Regions from separate parts of the Homo sapiens genome. Here all the other regions are linked to region 1. The links are contacts of gene promoters, found by promoter capture Hi-C in human tissues and cell types (Jung and others, 2019). All regions are on one chromosome and are shown on one strand. The core of a region is centred on a gene start or on the middle of the fragment in contact, and the rest is flanking DNA. Distances in the headings are between cores, read along the strand shown. Region 1 holds the start of LEAP2 (liver enriched antimicrobial peptide 2). Region 2 overlaps SEPTIN8 (septin 8). Region 3 overlaps AFF4 (ALF transcription elongation factor 4).

Evidence for each region. Contacts are between HindIII fragments. The study calls those that stand out against the background at their distance.
Region 2: a contact is called between a fragment that was not itself captured here and the fragment with the promoter of LEAP2 in region 1, in 3 of the 25 tissues and cell types used here (dorsolateral prefrontal cortex, mesenchymal stem cells and pancreas).
Region 3: a contact is called between a fragment that was not itself captured here and the fragment with the promoter of LEAP2 in region 1, in 2 of the 25 tissues and cell types used here (mesendoderm cells and thymus).

What each region holds. Positions count from the first base shown.
Region 1 is chr5:132,870,707-132,875,737 of GRCh38, reverse strand. LEAP2 (liver enriched antimicrobial peptide 2) reads right to left here and starts at 2,070. Exons shown (of 3, transcript NM_052971.3): 1 at 1,987-2,070; 2 at 1,649-1,788; 3 at 692-1,328. The coding sequence starts at 2,043. The coding sequence ends at 1,292. It overlaps AFF4 (ALF transcription elongation factor 4), which reads left to right. Exons shown (of 21, transcript NM_014423.4): 21 at 1-343. The HindIII fragment of the contact is 2,304 bases long and covers 2,065-4,368 here.
Region 2 is chr5:132,768,945-132,773,975 of GRCh38, reverse strand. All of the region lies in intron 1 of SEPTIN8 (septin 8), which reads left to right. Among named protein-coding and RNA genes, the nearest start is that of SEPTIN8, 5.8 kb to the left of the region's middle. The HindIII fragment of the contact is 3,532 bases long and covers 1,215-4,746 here.
Region 3 is chr5:132,936,249-132,941,279 of GRCh38, reverse strand. It overlaps AFF4 (ALF transcription elongation factor 4), which reads left to right. Exons shown (of 21, transcript NM_014423.4): 2 at 4,087-4,213. The coding sequence starts at 4,091. Among named protein-coding and RNA genes, the nearest start is that of AFF4, 25 kb to the left of the region's middle. The HindIII fragment of the contact is 3,062 bases long and covers 1,148-4,209 here.

The DNA of each region.
Region 1 (5,031 bases), core at 821-3,320:
CTCAAAAGCTAGGATTTCTAAGTCAGTATGTGCATTTCACACGATAAAGCTGTTAATGGTGAGCAAAGTATTATATACTAACTAGATTTTTCCACATCTGTATAGTATATTATATGTATTTTGTGGTATTGAGAGTATAGAAAGTTTAGAGTGTCAAACATGCGTTTAATGTGTATTTTTAAACAAATTTATGGCAATTAAAATATTTGGAGACAAGGGTATCACATTTCAATTTGTAAAGATCTTTTTAACTCTACTGTGTCATTAAGATGCTTTGTACAATGCCAAACCATAGTTGGAGAAACTAAGTTTAATAAATATCAAATAGATTTTCTGTATTAAAGTTACTGAACACTGTACTCTTTATATTTCTTCAACTCTGAGCCCTTTTCATGCAATTCCTGTTTTGTGTCTTAAGGTCCGTTACTACTCTTTAAAAGTCTGTTCCCACCAGCTGAGGTCTCATTTTCTGATTACAGAAATTCTGAACTTGCTGGCCATGGGTCCTTGTGCATATGTCAAAATTCACCTTGTCCCAACAGAAATCTTAAATCTCTTTTGGTGCTTTTGGTGGCTTGGGCTTTCATTGCTTTATTAAACTAGATTTTTCTCTCTGTTCTGCCTTATCTTCAGACAGCCATAGACAAACCTGGGTGCTTCATTAGATGGCAAGTGCTTGACCATCTTTTTTTTTTTTTTTTTTTTTTGAGACAGAGTCTCTCTATGTCACCCAGGCTGGGGTGCAGTGGCATGATCTTGGCTCACTGCAACCTCCACCTCCCAGGTTCAAGTGATTCTCCTGCCTCAGCCTCCCAAGCTTGACCACCTTTGACACCTCCCTGAAGAGTATGGAGTGAAGGGATCCAGGGCCACAGCTTAGGAACTTGCTGAAGTTGATTACGTAGCTATTGATTATGTAGCTCTCACTACACTTTCCAGATTGAGAAGTTAACACATTATTGGGCAATGCTGTTTTTTTCTTTAGTATACAAAATGAATCCTTCTTTCCCTCAAAAGCTTGAATTCCAGACTGCTAAAATTTCAATTTGAGACATTTAATAGTATCCATAGAAAAATAAACTCTAAATTGACAAGTTTAGTTATGCTTATCCATATATCAACATTCTAAGAAGAAATGGAGACCAATTTAAAGCGTACATCTGCCTTTAAATATTAAAAATACAAGATTGCTTCACTTGGGTGTCTCCAGCCAAAATGCAGTTAATCAATATTCCATAGAACGGAGCATTGTCGGAGGTGACTGCTGTCCTTTCTTTCCCTGGTATGTACATCATTCCTGGGCCACACTTAAGGAACAGCGTCTTTTTCTAGGGGAAAAGAAAGGGTAGTTTTTTAAGACTGGGTCTAGGAATGACCAGGGCCACCTATGCTGCATTTCCTTCCTCTTTGCTTGATCTGTCCAGTCTCAGGAAAGACTGAAGAATGGAAAGGCACCACTCTTTCATGGTACCCACATAGAGCTGTTCTTGGCTCCTAACTCCTAAGGGATTTTCCATGGAGCTCCCAGTCTCAGTCTAGAACTCCTCCATCCCAGCTTTATTCTTAGGTTCATGTGTCCCCTTGTCACTCCTCTGCCCAGCTTCCCAGGGCTCTCTGGCCCAACCCTGCTCCCAGGTTCAGGGAGTACCTGCATAGCCTTGTGATACACTCAGAATCATCCCGGCAGGAGGCTCCAATAGGCCTGAGGGAAACCCCTCTCCAAAATGGGGTCATTCTCCGTGGCCTTCTCTTTGCCGAACTCACTTCTGGTATTGGGGAGCCATCTATCTGTAAGGGCAAAGACATTCAGATATGAAAGTGTTGACACCCTGCTGCACACCTTGGAAGAGTGATCATTCCATTCCGCAGATGCTGTAGACTCAGAACAGAGGAACCATTCCTCAGGACTGAATCTAGCTTTCAAGTTCCACCACCACTATCATCTCCACACTCCACACACACACATAAGTATCCTTCCCTCCTTACCTGGCCCAACAGCAACAGGAAGATCATGAGGACTGCACAAAGTTTGAGGTGCCACATCTTGACAGGGGGAGGATGTTGGAGCCTGAAAGCCAGGGACAGTTCCTACTTCCTTTTATAGACTGACATCAACTCTTGCATTGTTACTGGGTGAGATGGGGGCAAAGTTTATATTTGTAATCAGAATCAATTTAATAAGTTAATGTCTACCGGAGGAATGTGCTCAAGGGCCACCTTTCAGGCACGTTGTATTTACTGATCCCTCATCTGGACTTTGAGTGATTGTGTTGCTGGCATGGACCCTTTCGCCCATTTTACCAAAAGTCAGCACTGCCCTTCCTTCCCTTTGAAAGCCACGTGAAACCATTGAGGGAGGTCAGGCAACTAGCCACATTTCTATTCCAAAATAGCTCAGTGAGATCACTCCCATAGAATTCCAATAATGAAGTCTTCAGAAATAATGTTGGCCCCTTTCAGCCTTGTCTAGGAAAGAAGCACTGATCTATTGTGTACAGCCAATTGGATAAGGCCCTTATCTCCTTTCTGTGGGAGGATGCTTCAGCAAGGCCTACAGTTCCCCAGATCGTCCACTTGCTTAGATGGACTGTCACCCTAATCTGCACCTCTTTATCTCACTAGTAAAATGAAGACCCAGCTGTGGAAAGTTCAAAGTCTGGCCTCCTGCCCTCTCAGGGGAATGGCTGGATGTGAGACTTATTTGGACCACAGGTGAATTGAATAATTATAGGTTTCTTTTTGTTTTTAAGCACATGTAGATGAGGAGGTAACAAGATCTCCTAAATCAGAGGGAGAGCTTGTGTAGTGACTGTATTAAAAGCCTTGAATTATGGGCTTTCTTCCCAGTAGTTGAGTGGGGCCTTTCCTTCCGGCAGCTTCAGGGCAACAGGCATAGGGATGAGATACCTCCAAAGCCCAAAGCATCCATCAGTTTAAGTAGGAACTGCTGCAGATTTCTAGACCAAGGGAGGACATGTATCTAAACGATGGGTAGTTATGGGTACTCGTGAAATGACATGGGCATTTTAAGTTTGAGGGGAAAGCTGTGAATTCTGAGTAAGGAGACTGATTGGACTTTAGATCTTCCTATGACCTGGGAGGATAATAAGCTTAAGACAAAGACAACAAATTCTTTCTGCCGGGCATCATACTGAAAACTTGGCTAATACCTCTTCCCAAGGGCCGTCTCATCTTCACAGGTTGGGTATTTGGATAAGAACCTGCTTGTTCCTTTACTCCAGGAAAACGTGGAGGAGATGCACAACAGCTGAAGGTAGAAAAGGATGGCCACTGACCCTGCTGCCAGTCAGACAGAGGGAGCTTCTTGCCAAGGGAGAAGCAGATGGTTTGATGGACCTCAGAGCTGGAATTGGGCAGGATGTGACCACAGATCTGACTGTCCTGATTCTAGTCCTCTCAGAATCATGGAGCCAGGCCTTGAGGGGGATGCCACTGCATGCACTTTAGGAACATTGAGAAGAGACCTATATACCAACGAACCAGTTGAGACTAGTTCTCTGCTCCCTCCCTTCACCCCTAAGCTTGGATACTGGATGATCCCAGACAGGTGCCTAAACTGGGAACTTTTGCTGGGAGGGGAAGTGGCTATGTGGGTGACCTAGTGAGCACTGGGTAAGAACACAAATGATTAGATAAGCAAAGGACTGAACAACGTGATGTCCTAGAGCCAGTTGGGTCTGTGGCCTCAGTGTCAGCCTCCCCTTTACCAGTCTAGAGTGATGTGCCAAATGGGATTTGGAAACTGTTCATCCAAAAGATGAGTAATTCTCCTAATCCTCCATTTCTGCCTTCCTGTACTTCTAGCAGGATCAAACTAGCATGGTGTTAATTTGTAAAGCTGATAACACAGTCAAGGAAAGAAAGAGCTTGAAGCCCTTGCCCCTCTGTGTGTAGGCGGAAAGGACCATTCATCCTCATGAGTGTGACAACATTGCAGAGGCCTTTGGTTCAAGCCTCTATGTTGTATGCCACCCTCTCCCCAAAAGAAAAAACCATTAGTCACTGTCTGTGGAAGGAACCACTGTTGGGGAAGGGGAAAGTATTTTAACATGTCTACGTGAATGCTAGTTGTTTTAGTTAAGTATGGAGCAAAAATCAAACTCAAAGCAACATCCAGGCAGCAGTTAGCTGAATTGGCAGTATTTGTCCACAGCCATCCCATACTTGAGAGACTGTGAAGGCCTCTTCTTGAAATTAAAAAAAAAAAAATTTCATGGATTCTACAATCAAGTATTTTGCTCAGTGAATATACACGTAACTGCATGCTCCTTCATCCAATAGAAAGGCCTAAGTAGCCTTTAACAGTTGCAGCCGTAAGAAGGTAGAATGCTTGGCTGGTAAGCAGTAGCCTGGGGTCTACAGAGTGCAACTGCCCATAGGCCAGCCCTTCCCCTTTTTGGGCTTTAGTCTCCTATTCTGTCAGTTTGGGGGTTCAAATGACTAATTTACAAGAAGAAAATGAGACTGAAGCAGATTTGATAGCTGAGAGCTTGGTAACTCTGGATACAACTCTCAAGAGATTTTATGCTTCTGAGGCAAATGCTTAGGATGAAATGGGAGAAAGAGGGTATAGCTACATGAGCAGCTGTTTGAAACACATTCCAGGTCGATCACTAGGAGTTGGCAGTAATTGGAAACTTTTTGCTGTCCCTAAGCAGGAGGTGCCTAATAAAAGATGAAAGACTCTGAAATGGAAAAACTTTACCAGGTAAAATTTCAACAAAAGGTCAAGGTGTATTTGCTTTTTTGCTAGCTGGAACTGGCATAGACTTTTGGGCCTACCTTAGGCCTGCATTTTGAGGACTGCCTGCAAACTAAAAGAGCAAGGGCATTCCTTTCATCAGACTCTGCAGCCCATAGATAAAAACGCTTGTGGGGGCAGGAGCATTTGGAAAAAGAAAGGTCAAATGGAGCAAATGGTTGTGCCAGAGTAGCAGGTAAGGGATCCATACCCAGGACTGGAGGCTCCAGATGGGTTACCAGCACTGAAGCCCACAGCAGCTGTCTTTC
Region 2 (5,031 bases), core at 1,731-4,230, 100 kb after region 1:
GGCACATGTGAGCACCACCTGCAGAGCTGCAGCTCTGCCCTCTCCCCCAGGAGGTGAGTCTGCCTGCCCTCCCTCTCTCTTGGGCATCAGACCATGCTATGTGTGCCCACCTTAGGAAGGTCTCCTTGGGGTCTTGATTGCAGTGGGTCAGAGCTGCGGGGCTGATGGAAAGCATTGGTCATTCCAGGGAGCACATGCTAAAAGACTGACCATGATAGGAACAGAGAGGATGGCAAGGAGGAGACCAAGCTCAGGGCCAAGGAGGAGGGAGACTGGATGGAGCCTGGGAACCCAGGGTCTGACTTGTGTCAAAAACCTTGGATGGCAAGGAGGGCAGTGGGTGCTTTGAGCGCATTATCTTGTTGATGCCAACAGCCCAAGGTTGGGTGAGGATGCAGACTTTGGTCATTGGCTAGCAAAGGTAGGGGGAACAAGATCCAAATTCCAATACCAGAGATGACAGAGAGGGTGGATACCTTGGCGTTTTGAGCCCTCGGATGGGCTAGGTGGAAGCATATATTATATTTGGGGCAGTAACTACCACGAATGTCTCTGTGGCTCAAGTCCAGCTACCAGAGGCGAGCAGCTGCAGGATGGTAGAGCAAAGGGCCTGAGGGCCAGCTGGCCTCTGTGTGTCCCTTGCAGCCTCCCCAGCCTTCCTGCCTCTGTGCTGCCAGCTTGGGTTTCAGGATCCCCAGGCATGGCCCCCAAGGCAAAAGCTTTGCCAGATAACCAGATGCAGAGCTATGCATGCAGGAGGGAGACACATCTGCCTGGGGAGGAGACGCCCTCCCAAGGTCTCCATGCCCTTGTGGTAGAGCTGGGGCACTCTGTTGGCTTCTTTTGGAGCCATCTGAACCTTCAGAGCTCCTGAAAGAACTGGCTGGGAAGAGGCAGCGGAGGACGGGGCAGGGGGCATCTTGGCTCTGCGTGCAGTTGCCCTACATGTTCTTGGGGCAAATTAGATATTCTCCTCAGGATACACGGCTTTCAGGTGTTCCCTATCCTAGAGGTCAGATTAGAGGGACAGAACCAGCAGAGGAAGGTACAGGGGCCCATGTCTGCTGGCAGGTGGCTGGCTGTTTTCTGAGGGGGCTCCAGGGCTTGGGCTGCCTGATGCTTGGGGTTCAGGAGGGGCTGTGGGTATGGACCCAAGCCCACTTGCCAGACATGGCTCTTGGGCCTGGGTACAAACCTGACATTCTGCCTGGTGTTGGAGTGAATGGACAAGCAGCAGAGAAGTATAGCAGTGCCACCCCCATACCTCTGCCAACCCGTATTGGTGCCCATGCATTCCTCCGTCCCTTTCCAGCACTGGCATCCATCGTGGGGTTGGACAGAAGGCGGGGCACCTTTGCTGCCCACATTCTCCCTCCAAGGGTTTCATTTGCTGTGAAACAGAGGCTGCCTTCTCCTGCCAGTGATACCCAGACCACTCGTGGCTTTCCCTGTTACAAGGCAGTGGTGGCTGCCACTGGAGTCCCTGAGCTAAGTAAGAAAATATGAATGCCTGGAGTTCTAGTACATTCTGCAGCCCAGAGCACCTTCCCCATCTCCTCTGTGGTGGGATAGACCACTCCCTCTCAGGCAGCACAATAAAGGCCAAGAATGTGTCTGTCCTAGGCCTGGGGGTTGGGGTGGCGAGTACTGGCCCAGCTACCAGTAACTGTGCTCTTAGCTTCCTGGAAATCTGATTTTGATGGGAAAAGCTTGAAACACACTATCCCAAATTAATAAGCTCCAGCCTGGCTGGCTGTGTGCAGAAAGGAAAGACAGTGCCTCTTAGTGAGACAGAGAAACAGAGAGAATGGAGTATTGGGGTCAGGGGATGGTTTTGCTCCCAAAATTCCTTCTCTTCCCAGGATGGGTGGAGTAGGACTGGCCTTGTGAGGATGATTGGCTTCCTGTTACCTTGACTGCCGTCATGTTGGGACCATGGCGGGTGATCCTTGCTTGAATCTTCTCTCAAGTTTTCTGTTGCCACTGTAGGAGAAAGATGCTTTGGCTCCCAGGTGTCCTCTTGATTTGGGACAGGTATATCCTGCCTCTATTCTTCCTTCCTGGCCCCGGGTAGCAGCATCCCACCCCCACCCTCCCACGTATGTCTCCTTGGTTATTTCCCGTAACCTCTGACCTGGGCTTAGAGGCTTGCTGTGGAATCCTGGGACCAGAGCCGAAGCCTTTCCTGGGAAAATTCCTAGGATTCCTCTCAGGCTCAAGGACAGTTGTGCTTATGACCGCGACCACGGGTTCTGGCTAGAGGCCTCTGCTCTGGCTATTTAAGGCCCAGGCTCCTGGGAGGAGCTGGAGCCGGGGCTAGCATAGTTTGTGCCAGGAACATGGGTGGAGAAAGCTTCCAGTGGTCCATTGACTCCTGAGTCCATTGCTCAGTTACTTAATAGGGCCACCCCCAGGGCTGGAGCTCCCCTGGGGAGTGGGCTTCCTGTCTGCCTGACTGGGTGTACAGGTGAGTGGGTGCTAGGCATGGGAGCCCAGAGGAAGAAAAGCATCCAAAGTCCAAGGCACTGGAGAACTCTGGAAGGCCTGAGGTCTGGGGGCTGCTCTTTGTCCATTACTCGGTAGCCAATCCACCTATGGTGGGGTATCCTTTCTACTCCCACTGCAACAACCAGCCTAGTTTGGGGGTTTGGATCACAGGGGTCTTTATTTACCCACAGCTTCCCCGGCTCTGTTGGTTTAGAGATTCAGTAGATTTCCAGTTCCTTCTGGATAAAAACCTGTTTTTGTGTGTTGGCAACCATGAGATGCAGTTTCTTCCCAGATCCCACCTTGTTTCATGGTAAAAGGGACAGCTCCTCTTGGCTGGTGATGAGGGCTGCTCTAGGAGGCTCAGACAGAGCATTTCCTATCAGGAAAAGGGCGTCCTAGTTATCCACTGGGCTGCGTAACAAAATGCTGTTCTCTACTTTGTCTTGGACGGCCGGGCATGGAGGCACGCAGCCGGCCTGAGAAGTTATTGTTTTGGTTGTTGTCTTTGATGTGCCAAAGAAATGATGACACAGAAGCCTGGGGCCTGGCTCAGGAGCCAAAAGCTTGTTAGTGATTAGAGAGGGGATAATGGCCCCATGGAGTTTCTCATTGCATATGTAGAGCTCAGAGCTGCCAACTCCCTCTATCCTGGGACTTTGAAGACATATACAACGCTCACCCCTGTGTGAGCACCTCAGGGAGCTGGGTGTGTGGAATGAGCCAGAGGCTTTGGGTCCACCTCTCTCTGGGGTCCAAGTTAAGTTGTCCTGCCTGAAGGCTCCTCCCCACAGAGCAGTCTGCCATGGGGCTTCCTGACTTGAGAATGGAGCCTGGCTGCAGGGTCCGTCCAGCTCACCCTCCCACCAGAGCCAGCTTACAGACCAGCAGGCCTTTGGCCCACACCAGCCCCCTGACATGTTGTATTGGGCCCTCATGGTATTCTCAGTTTGTATTGGTTGTCAATCTTTAAAAATTACAGAATTTCACATAAAAATATAGATTTCTGGGCCAGGCATGGTGGCTCACACCTGTAATCCCAGCACTTTGGGAGGCCAACGCAGGTGGATCACCTGAGGTCAGGAGTTCAAGACCGACCTGGCCAACATAGTGAAACCCCGTCTCTACTAAAAATACAAAAATCAGCCAGGCGTGGTGGTTGCGTGCCTGTAATCCCAGCTACTGGGGAGTCTGAGGCATGAGAATTGCTTGTACCTAGGAGGCGGAGGTTACAGTGAGCTGAGATCACACCACTCCAGCCTGGGTGACAGAGCCAGACTGTGTCTCAAAAAATACATACATACATATATATACATATATACATATATATATATATATATATACACACACATACACATATATACATATATATATATATACATATATACATATATATATACATATATACATATATATATATATATACACACACACACACACACACACATATATATATATGTGTGTGTATATATATATATATATATATATATATATATATATATATATGTATATATAGAGAGAGATTTTTGGGTTCTCTTTAAAAACGGGAAGATTTGGCAACACTAGATCTGTGTTCCCACAGTTGGCTGGCGTTGTGGAACTGTGGCCACCATGGATTGAGCATAAGCACAGGCTCTCCAGTTCTCTGCCATTCCCACCTCTCCCCGGGAACCCCCACGCTTGGCCAAGTTAGTGGCTGTCTTTCATCCAGCAGGCGGGGAGTGATGTGACTAGAAGTGTGGGTTTCACAGTCATGTTGTCTCCATTCAGATCCTGGCTTTGCTCTCCTGAGCAGTGTGGTCTTGGGCAAATTACACACTCTCTTGATGCCTCTATTGTCTCATCTAGACAATGGGGAGGCTGCTACGGCCTATGTCATAGGGCTGATGTGTGGACTAAATTAGATTAAATTAGGGTTGCGCAAAGCAAGCATGCAATACATGTTAGTTATGTCTGTTGTTGTTGCCATTGTTATTAAGGTGCTGCTCCCCTTCACCTATATATGTTACCTGCCTGGCTTCTAAAGGCATTTGAGTTTAGGCTTAGCCCTCTGAGGTCAAGGATCTGATGTCCTCATCTTTTCACTGGCAGCCATCTCAGTTCCTGGCACACAGCAGACATGTCCAGTGCGTGTGTGTTGAGTGACTGAATGAATGAGTTGGAAGCCTGCTAAGAACAGGGGAGGCAATGTAGCAGAGTGGTTTGGGACAAGAGCTTGGTCTGTTCTCAGGTCCCTGCTCTGCCCTGGTTAGTTCCCTAGCTTCTGTGTGCTTCAGTTTCCTCCCCTGTAAAATGGGGATAATCATGGAGTCTGTCATCCACAGTGAGGAAGGACCAAGTGAGAGCCTGGGTGTAAATCACTTGGCTTAGTTCACACATGGTGGTCCTCAGTGAGGTGTTGGTATCATCCCAGACGTCCCTTCCTTCCTTTGGTTGTGAATACTGAGATGTTTTACCTTCCACACTGTCCCTCCTTTCCTGGCTCTCCTCGCTTTCTCCCTGTTCCTCTGCATCCAAAGAGTTTTACTTTGGATCCTATGGCAC
Region 3 (5,031 bases), core at 1,429-3,928, 65 kb before region 1:
TTGCCCGTTTGACAAAGATATACTTCAGATTGACTCATTTAAATTTCATGTTAACGTTGGAGGAGTTGAAATTACTGGAATTATTGCTTTTGGAGAAAACTTATTTCATCTTAGCCAGAGATAGTGATGGTAAGAGACACAGGAGGCAAAAAAAATCGAACCAATATATTTGATACAAAAAGATCAGAAAAAAATAGAGAATAAGCACTATAACTGGTATATTAATTTTTTCTTTTCTTTCTTTTTTTTTTTTGAGATGTAGTTTCGTTTTGTCACCCAGGCTGGAGTTCAGTGATGCAATCTCAGCTCACTGCAACCTCCGCCTCCTGAGTTCAAGCTTTTCTCCTGCATCAGCCTCCTGAGTAGCTGGGATTACAGGCACCTGCCACCATGCCTGGCTAATTTTTGTATTTTTGGTGGAGATGGGGTTTCACCGTGTTGGCCAGGCTGGTCTTGAATTCTTGACCTCAGGTCATCCGCCTGCCTCGGCCTCCCAAAGTGCTGGGATTACAGGAGTGAGCCACAGCACCCGACCTAATTATTACAGTGAGTTAATTTAGTTCTTAGCTTCCTGGTAGCCTTATAAGTGTTCACTTGTGTGACTTTGATTGTTTAAAAAACCAGTTTCTTTGACATTGAATTACAGAAAGAATTTTATTATAGGAATCACCTATTTTTACAAGAGATATAGAAATACTTCTTGAATGATTATTTCAGTGCTGCTCAATCTATAAAATAAAATCATACTTTATTTTTTGTTTTTATTTTTATTTTTTTTTGAGACGGAGTCTCCCTCTGTCGCCCAGGCTGGAGTGCAGTGGTGCGATCTCGACTCACTGCAAGCTCCGCCTCCCGGGTTCACGCCATTCTCCTGCCTCAGCCTCCCGAGTAGCTGGGACTTCAGGCGCCCACCGCCACGCCCGGATAATTTCTTTTTATATTTTTAGTAGAGATGGGGTTTCACTGTGTTAGCCAGGATATCTCAATCTCCTGACCTTGTGATCTGCCCGCCTCCGCCACCCAAATTGCTAGGATTACAGGCGTGAGCCACCGCACCCGGCCTTTATTTTTATTTTTTTGAGATGGAGTCTTGCTCTTGTCACCCAGGCTGGAGTCCAGTGGTGCGATCTTGACTCACTGCAACCTCCGCCTCCCAGGTTCATGCAGTTCTCCTGCCTCAGCCTCCTGAGTAGCTGGGATTATAGGCACCTGCTACCACGGCAGGCTACTTTTTTGTATTTTGTAGTAGAGATGGGGTTTCACTGCATTGGCCAGGCTGGTCTTGAACTCCTTACCTCCAGTGATCCGCCCGCCTTGGCCTCTCAAAGTGCTGGGATTACAGTTGTAAGCCACCGCTCCTGGCCTTAAGCCAAAGTTCAGGCTCATGCCTGTAATCCCAGCACTTTGAGAGGCCAAGGCAGGCAGATCACCTGATGTCTGGAGTTTGAGACCAGGAGTTTGGCCAACTCGGTGAAACCCCATCGCTACTAAAAATACAAAAATTAGCCGGGCGTGGTGGCAGGTGCCTGTAATCCCAGCTACTCAGGAGGCTGAGGCAGGAGAATCAATTGAACCTGGGTGGTGGAGGTTGCAGTGAGCCGAGATCGTGCCATCGCACTTCAACCTGGGGGACAAGAGCGAGACTTCGTCTCAAAAAAAAGAAAAAAGAAGTTGCAGATCTTTCAGGATTTAAATTTAAGGAAACTGGTAGTTAACATATTCCTTAGTCTCTCAGGTATAAATAACTTTGTATGTTGGCAGAACCATAGCCCAAGAGGCCTATTTGAAGCCTGGTTGTTAGTGATATAAAACTATTACTTGGTTCAAATGTGATGGAGTATAATATGTTCTTTGGTTTTGTTTTATGAATACTTAAGTTTTGTGGTATTCTTTAAAGATTGAAATAGAGTTCTATAGAGTGCTAAGTATTAGCGAAACCAAAGAAATCCTGTTTAAGCTTATTAGAAAATTGTATACATTAAGCTTATTAGAAAATTGTATACATACAAAACAATTTGAAAACATATCTGAAACACTTAGAACATTCTTTTTTTTTTTTTTTTGAGAAAGGGTCTCGTTCTGTCTCCCAGGCTGGAGATCAGTGGCACAATCATGGCTCACTGCAACCTCTGCCTCCTGGATTCAAGTGATTCTCTTGCTTGAGCCTCCCGAGAAGCTATTACAGGTGTCCACCACCACACCTGGCTAAATTTTATTTTTAGTAGAGATGCAGTTTTGTCATGTTGGCTAGGCAGGTCAAGCGATCCTCCCACCTCGGGTCCCTTTTTTTTTTTTTTTTCTAAACATTAAATTGCCTTTTTTTTTTTTTTTTTTTTTTGAGATGAGTCTCTCTCTGTCGCCCAGGCTGGAGTGCAGTGGTGCCATCTCAGCTCACTGCAATCTCTGCCTCCCGGGTTCACGCCATTCTCCTGCCTCAGCCTCCTGAGTAGCCGGGACTACAGGCGCCTGCCACTGCACCTGGCTAATTTTTTGTATTTTTAGTAGAGACGGGGTTTCACCGTGTTAGCCAGGATGGTCTCGATCTCCTGACCTTGTGATCTGCCCACCTCGGCCTCCCAAAGTGCTGGGTTTACAGGCGTGAGCCGCTCAGGCCGTTAAATTGCTTTTATTGCATGACACTTAGTATGCAAATCAGGAGGTTTTAATTTTAAATGTTTGCTTTCACTAGTTCTAACCACTGATTAAAGTCCTCAAAAGTACTTGGTTGCTCTCATGCCTGTAATCCCAGCACTTTGGGAGGCCAAGGTGGGAGGATCACTTGAGGTCAGGAGTCCAGCCTGGCCTGGCCAACATGGTGAAATCCTGTCTCTACTAAAAATAAAAAAATTAGCCAGCCATTGGCATGCACCTGTAATCCCAGCTACTCAGGAGGCTGAGGTAGGAGAATCGCTTGAACCCGGGAGGCATAGGTTGTGGTGAGCTGGGAGATCGCACCACCGCACTCCAGCCTGGATGATAGAGCAAGACTCTGTTTCAAAAAAAAAAAAAAGAGTATAATACTGCTTTGTTACTAATTCTAATTTTATAATTATAGTTTCTGATGAACTTTAATTTTCTGATTTGATTTATGAATTATAGGCCAGAAATGCTCCACACATATAACCTGATTGTTTCTTTCTGGGCTCCAGTGAGCCTTTTTTTTTAAAAAAAAAAACAAAACCAGGTCTGATTATTTAATCTGTCTCCAGGGAAGAGTGTTGCAGATTCCCTGGTAATCCCTAGTGCCAGAGTTTGCCAGCCTTTACTACCATTGTCTGTTTAATCAAAATCCTTGCTGCTATAAATTGGCTGTATTTCTCTTGGTTTGTTCTAGTGAAAATAAGACAAACTGTCCTGATTATAGAGATGGGACTTCCATTTTCCCCTCACTCCAAAGACTTCCTTTTTCAATACAAGTTTAGTTGCTGTTACTAATCCAAGTTAATTTTTGATTCTATCACTGAAAACCTGGGTTTTGCCATTTATTGAGGTGTTAATTGAAATATTAATATATTTAGAGCAGAAATGTCGTTTTTTAGGGAATCTAGAGCAACAGCAAAGCTGAGGTCAAACTACCGTAAGGATGGACACCAAGGAAGCTGTGTTTGGGACAAAAAGAAATCAAGATAAGGTAGATGCAAAGTAGAGAAAAGAACTGGACCCTGGGGGGAAGGGTGGTAGTTGGGAGTGGGTTATATGCTTCTAAGGGCAAAGAATAGGCAGATTTCTGAAGAGGAGGGCCCAAAAGGAAATACTGAGGATTTGTGTTCAAATACTACGTTCCCTCTGAATGTACAAGTTTTTGCTTTTAGCTAACAGAGTACTTCAAACATTGATAAGGTTAAGTGTTTTGTTGGGGTGGGTTCTAATATTCTGGGCTAGTGTTTCCTTGGAATAGTTGTGGAAGACACTATTGGTATTTGTTGATAAAACCATTACCAAAACCCAGCTTCAGCACTAATGCCTGTTATTACTTGGAGGTCAAAAGGGAATCTGTGATTGAAGTGTTAAGCTGACAAAATCTGTACAGAATATTTAATTTTTCCTTTTATTTCTGTGATACAAAGATTGTGTTTCTTTTCATAGCAACATGAACCGTGAAGACCGGAATGTGCTGCGTATGAAAGAACGGGAAAGGCGGAATCAGGAAATTCAGCAGGGCGAAGACGCCTTCCCACCTAGCTCTCCTCTCTTTGCAGAGCCATACAAAGTTGTAAGTTGCCCTTCTGTGAATGTTTTTTTCCCATTAGCATGACATTTTTGCTTTTAAAATGTTTCACACTTGAATGTTTATATTAGAAAAGAATTACTATGAATACCACTTAACATTTTTTTCCTGTCCTTTACATAGAAGATATTTTTTGGGGATAAACTTTTCTTTGGAGTATATTATGCTTACAGAAAAATACACAACATAGGTATTATGGCTTGAAGAATTTTCACAGCATCAACAGCTTCATACAACTCAGATCAAGAAATAGAGCATTACCAGCACCCTAAAAGTCGTTTTCCAACCCACCTCCTATTGCTGTCCTGTGTTCTTAAAAATGTGGTCTGAGTTGGCTCATACATTTACCTCTATTTTCCTAGTTGTGCTACTAACCATCGGCGGGTACTTCACCATTCTGAATTTTGAATTAAATTAGAATTTTGTAACTCAATTTGCATTGTTTGATTTTTCCTAGGTGTTCTTTAAGTGTGATATCAATAAAAAATGAATATTTCATAGATGCTTTTGTTTCTTCTCACTGCCATTTGCTACTTAGTTTACAAAGTTTCAGAGATTATTAGTATGTTTGAATAAATGTGTCTTCAGTATCAGTCTGATTTCTTTTTCTGTTGTTATAGACAGTCATTTGGGTATCACTTTTTTCATTAAATTTTTGTTTCTGCTTCTAACTATAACATTGAGTTATGAGGAATATAATATTTTCATAAACTGCCAAAATACGAATGTTAGCTAATCTGCTGGACTGTGGAAGTTAATTTTTTTTTTTTTTTTTTTTTTTTTTTGAGACGGAGTCTTGCTCT